Regions from separate parts of the Homo sapiens genome. Here region 1 is linked to region 2. Evidence: promoter capture Hi-C in 16 types of primary human blood cells and fetal thymus (Javierre and others, 2016). All regions are on one chromosome and are shown on one strand. The core of a region is centred on a gene start or on the middle of the fragment in contact, and the rest is flanking DNA. Distances in the headings are between cores, read along the strand shown. Region 1 overlaps LOC105376219 (a long non-coding RNA gene). Region 2 holds the start of C9orf152 (chromosome 9 open reading frame 152).

Region 1 (2,700 bases), core at 146-2,645, 1.1 Mb after region 2:
CAATAGTTATTTTTTCTGATCCTCTCCCTCCTCCCACCCTCCACCCTCAAGGTGGCCCCAGCGCCTGTTGTTCCCGTCTTTGTGTCCATGTGTTGTCATCATTTAGCTCCCACTTATAAGTAAGAACATGCAGTATTTGATTTTCTGTTCCTGTGTTAGTTTGCTAAGGATAATGGCCAAAGGAACAAAACAGAAAGCCCAGAAATAAGGACATACATCTACAACCATCTGATCTTTGACAAAGCTGATAAAAACAAGCAATGAGGAAAGGACTCCCTATTCAATAAATGGTACTGGGATAACTGGCTAGCCATATGCAGAAGATTGGACCTCTTCCTTACCCCATATACGAAAATCAACTCAAGATGGATTAAAGACTTAAATGTATAACCCAAAACTATAAAAACCCTGGAAGACAATCCAGGCAATACCATTCTGGACATAGGAACAGGCAAAGAGTTCATGACAAAGATGCCAAAAGTAATTGCAACAAAAGCAAAAATTGACAAATGGGATTTAATCAAACAAAAGAGCTTCTGCACAGCAAAAGAAACAGAGAAAACAGACAACCTACAGAATGGGAGAAAATATTTGCAAACTATGCATCTGATAAAGGTCTAGTATCCAGCATCTATCAGGAATTTAAACAAATTTATAAGAAAAAAACAAGCAACCCCATTAAAAAGTGGACAAAGGACACAAAACAGACACTTCCAAAGAAGATATAGATGTGGCCAACAAGCATATGAAAAAAAGCTCAATATCACTCATCATTAGAGAAATGCAAATCAAAACCACAAGGAGATACCATCTCACACCAGCCAGAATGGCTATTATTAACAAGTCAAAAAATAACAAATGCTGACAAGGTTGTGGAGAAAAGAGAACACTTATGCACCATTGGTGGGAGCGTAAATCAATTCAACCATTATGGAAAGCAGTGTGGTGATTCCTCAAAGAGCTAGAAACAGAACTACCATTCGATCCAGCAATCCCATTACTGGATGTATAAAAGGAAAAGAAATTGTTATATCATAAAGATGCATGTATGCATATGTTCATTGTGTCACTATTCACAATAGCAAAGACGTGGAATTAACCTAAATGTCCATCAAAGGTAGACTGGATAAAGAAAATGTGGTACATATACACCATGAAATACTAGGCAGCCATAAAAAAGAGTGAGATCATGTCCTTTGCAGGAACATGGACGGAGCCAGAGAGAAAATTTTGTCTACCAGATGGCCCCATACCCTACTGCCTCTCGGGCTGACACTGCCACATAAGGTCACTAGTGAAGCCCAGGTGGTTCGGTAACTTAGGTATGATCCAGCTTTTTTTCCTGATAAATTTATGGCAAAATGGGCCCACACTTCTATCAAAATCTTGCAACCCATCAGCATTTTTTTTTTTAAGACAGAGTCACACTCTGTTGCCCAAGCTGGAGTACAGTGGCTCAATCTCGGCTCACTGCAACCTCCGCCTCCCAGGTTCAAGTGAGCCTACTGCCTCAGCACCCCCTAGTAGCTGGGATTACAGGCACATGCCACCATGCCTGGCTAATTTTTGTATTTTTAGTAGAGACGAGGTTTCGCTATGTTGGCCGGGCTGGTCTGGAACTCCTGACCTCAGGTGATCTACACGTCTCGGCCTCCCAAAGTGCTGGGATTACAGACATGAGCCACTGCGCCCAGCCAACCCATTAGTTTTGTGATAACTGTGCTCCACTTCCAGGCATAGACCCCTTAGTTCAGGCTTTTCTACCAATGGCAACAGATGTCATCTGAAGTTTATTCACCCAAGTAGTACAGAACCCAAGGCTAAAAGATAAGCAATACGTGTAGGCAGATTGTGAGTACCTGGACATCATTAACCAATAATTTACCACTTGTGCAACTGTTGACTTTATTGGGCAAAAAATAAAAGAGGAAACACAGCCACATGCTTGGATGTGGTCCATATCATTTGGGTTCACAGATTCTTAGAACTCTCAACCAATAGCTCAGACTCAACCCTGTGCCTTACTTATTTTGACCTTATACGCACCTGCAAGCATCATTTTCCCCAGGAAACACTCAGCACAAGGATGACTGGATTCAAGGAAGTTTCAGATCTCAGCACCTACTATCTAGGATTTATTCATTCTCTCTCTCTCTCTCTCCCTCTGTCTCTCTCTCTTTCCCTCCCTCCCCTCTCCCCCATAGAGCCTGCAATCAGAATATATAATTTCTTCTCACTCTCCAGATCTACCCCCTCTTTCTAGCTTCTGTATGGCTTTTTTTTCATGAAGTATCCAAACATGTTAAAATTGAAAAAGTTTCTTTCAGAATCTGTTTTATATCAAATGAAATTAATTGTGATGAATTGTAAATACGGCAATGAGCAGATAAATTCTTATTGTCCTTAAGTCCATCCTGAGAATAGGTCCAAGAGTTTAAGATGTGATGAGACAAAACATGCTTTCAGACATGAGAATTTCAAAACTGTACAAGAAGATAATAAAAACTGTGAATGTATATTAAAGTTATATACTTTAACCACGGCAATATACATATACTCCGGCCCACTGTTCATGGTAAGAACTTGAATGAGCATTATCAGAGCTCTTCAAGGAATTGTCCCTCACATTAAAAAAAAAAATGCTGTCTCCATAACAAGAAATAAAAATTAGTACCGCCAAAAAGAGGACTTGGAACAGAT
Region 2 (2,915 bases), core at 88-2,587:
GCCTCTAACTCCCTCCTGGAATGAAATCTGAGTTCCTAAAGGGAGGAGGTTTCTCCCCATGAGGGGGTTTCTGTGTCCAATCACACCTCCCTGCCTGATGTTTGAGGCTGGATGAGCCTGGGATGCCTCATGGGTCTCTGAGCCCTAGGCGTCCTCTGGCCCAGACAGTTCCCAGGCTGTTGGGAACGCCATGTCTTCTACCTCCAGAGTGAATTTCTCTGGTTTGTAGGAGGTGCCTTAGTTAGACCCAGCCAGGAAGCAGAGCTCCTATCGCCATACCTGGGCTAGCAGGGGGGCCAAGCCTGGCTCACCAGGCTGACCAGTCTAGCAAGATTAGAACATCAGAGCAGAGGCCAGGAACAGTGCTGGCAGCCAGGTGCTTGGCTGAGGCCCCTGGCTCCCTTAGCAGGTGGGACAGCTGAGCAGAGCTGCCCTGAGCCCGCCTCCCCTGCTCTTCCCCACTGGGAGGGAGGGCTGGCAAAGCCCTGGCTCTGCCTCCCTGCAGCTCTGCCACTCAGGTCTCCCATGGTAAGTCTCTCCTTCCCCAGCACCTGTCCATTCCTACCTTTTGGAAGCACCAGGAGGTGGGCCTGGGTCCTCTGCTGCCTCTTCAAGCCTTCATACTGGGCTCGCAGGAACTGGATGCTGAGTGGGGGCCCTTTCCCAGGGGCCTGAGTCCTGGAGCCCTCAGCCATTAAGTGAGACCTAAGCTGCCAGAAGTGGGGCAGGGCTGGGCACGGGCAGGGCAACCCCTCCATCCGGATCCGGGAGAAAAGCAAACACAGCTGGGTGGGGCAGGACCTGGGGAGGGGAGAGAGAGGGAGGGGGCAGTGAGGGAGAAGGAGAAGTGACGGGCAAAAGGAGGGTGGAAAGAGGAGTGGGACTGAGGAAGGAGATAGAAAAATAAGGGGGAAGGAGAAAGATGAAGGGGAAGAGGAGGTAGGGATAGGGAGAAATGTGGGGGAGGAGAAAGGTGGGAGACAGTGGCAGTAAGAGGAGAAGGAAATGTCAGAGGAAAGAAGGGGCAGCGAAGGGGGAAAGACTGGAGGAAGGAGGTGATAGTGACAAGCGGGGATTAATGGGGCGAGAGAAGAAAGAGAGGGAGGAAGATGGAGACAGGCAGGAGGAGGCAGGGAAAGGAGTGATGGGGAGTGGGAGACCGAGAAGTAAGGGGAGGACTGGGGGAGCAAAGAGAAAGGCAAGCCCAGCTGCTCAGAGCCCTTCAGGGGGGTCAAGAAGGTGTCTTATTCCAGGTCCTTCCATTGCTTGATCCTAAAGTTTAGAATCCAATTCCCAGTGCCACGGTGAAGTCTCCCCTTTCCTGGCAGAGCTGGGACTGGGGCTGGGGAGTGCTAAGCTCGCGCTCTGCTCACACATTTTGGACTGGAACGTGGCCACTTTTCAGCAAACCTGCCGGTTGGGTTTGCAGTAGTTCAAAGAACACCCTCGGGAGCTTCACAAGGTCGGTGCCTCTGGATGTGTGCCCCGCGGCCACACCCTAAAGAAACCCAGTAGCAAAGATCTCCCCAAGATCTCCACTCAGACCCCAACACACACCCCAGGTGAAAATTCAGCCCTAAAGTCAGCCATGGGACAGAGCCCAGGGGAATCTTGGCCTCGGGCCAGCCCTACCCCTTGGACATTTGGTGCAGCCTCTGCCGTCTCAGCATTCTCCAACCAAGTGGTAAGTTAGGCATCCCCTCACTCTCTGCTTGCCAGCCTCAACATTTCCACATTGCTTTTGAATCCCAGACCCTCTCCCTCTTACACCAGCTTTGACCTAGCCTTGCTGCATTTGGTCAACTAAGTCCCTTTCTATCTTCTCCTATCACGGTGCTTACTGATTACCCAATTACCCAATATGTCTACAGAGGCAATGGAAACAGAGTAGAGCCTGAACCTACAAGACATTTTGGACATTAACCAGACAAGATCTAGTCATTTGATGTGGGGGAGCCGTGGAAGATGGAGAGCAAATCTTCACTGGGTAGTATATGTTAGTTTTGCTAGGGCTGCCATAACGAAATCCCACAAACTGGATGTCTTAAACAACAAACATTATTGTCTCAGAGTTCTGGAGGTTAGAAGTCCAAAGTCAAGGTGTGAGCAGGGTTGGTTTCTTCTTGGAGCTGTGTGAGAGTATCTGTTCCATGCCTCTCACCTTGCTTCTGATGGTTTGCTAGCAATCTCTGGTATTCTTTGGCTTGCAAAAACATTGCCTAATCTCTGCCTTTATCTTGACATGATGTTCTTCCTTTTTATTTTTTTATTTTATTTTTTTTTTGAGAGGGAGTCTCACTCTGTCGCCCAGGCTGGAGTGCAGTGGCGTAATCTCAGCTCACTGCAAGCTCTGCCTCCCGGGTTCGCATCATTCTCCTGCCTCAGCCTCCCGAGTAGCTGGGACTACAGGCACCCGCCACCGCGCCCAGCTAATTTTTTGTATTTTTCGTAGAGACAGGGTTTCACCGTGGTCTCGATCTCCTGACCTTGTGATCCGCCCGCCTTGGCCTCCCAAAGTGCTGGGATTACAGGCGTGAGCCACCACACCCGGCCTAATATGATGTTCTTCCTATGTGGGTGTCTCTGTGCCCAATTTTCCCCTTTTTATAAGTACAGCAATCACATTGGATTAGAGCTCAATCTGTCTCAAAAAAATACCGAGAGAGATAGCCAAAGCTTCCTCATACCTTTTTATCGGTAGATCACTCTATCATGAAGGCAAGAGCAACCCATCCATGCTGGACCAGCTGCACCTGCCATGAAATCATGGCAGTAGACATCATGGCAGTAGGCTGGCCACAATGGCTCACAACTGTAATCCCAGCACTTTGGGAGGCTGAGGTGGGTGTATTGATTGTGCCCTGGAGTTCAGGACCAGCCTGGGCAACATAGTGAAACTCTGTATCTACAAAAAT

What was found. Contacts are between HindIII fragments. The CHiCAGO score rates a contact against its expected background, and 5 or more counts as called.
Region 1: a fragment that was not itself captured here is called in contact with the fragment with the promoter of C9orf152 in region 2 in 1 of 17 cell types (neutrophils); the score reaches 5.3 in neutrophils.

The regions. Positions count from the first base shown.
Region 1 is chr9:111,280,229-111,282,928 of GRCh38, forward strand. All of the region lies in intron 1 of LOC105376219 (a long non-coding RNA gene), which reads right to left. Among named protein-coding and RNA genes, the nearest start is that of MIR7702, 10 kb to the left of the region's middle. The HindIII fragment of the contact is 3,113 bases long and covers 1-2,700 here.
Region 2 is chr9:110,206,822-110,209,736 of GRCh38, forward strand. C9orf152 (chromosome 9 open reading frame 152) reads right to left here and starts at 1,338. Exons shown (of 2, transcript NM_001012993.3): 1 at 566-1,338. The coding sequence starts at 758. RefSeq lists enhancers at 7-507, 508-1,008. The HindIII fragment of the contact is 8,259 bases long and covers 1-2,674 here.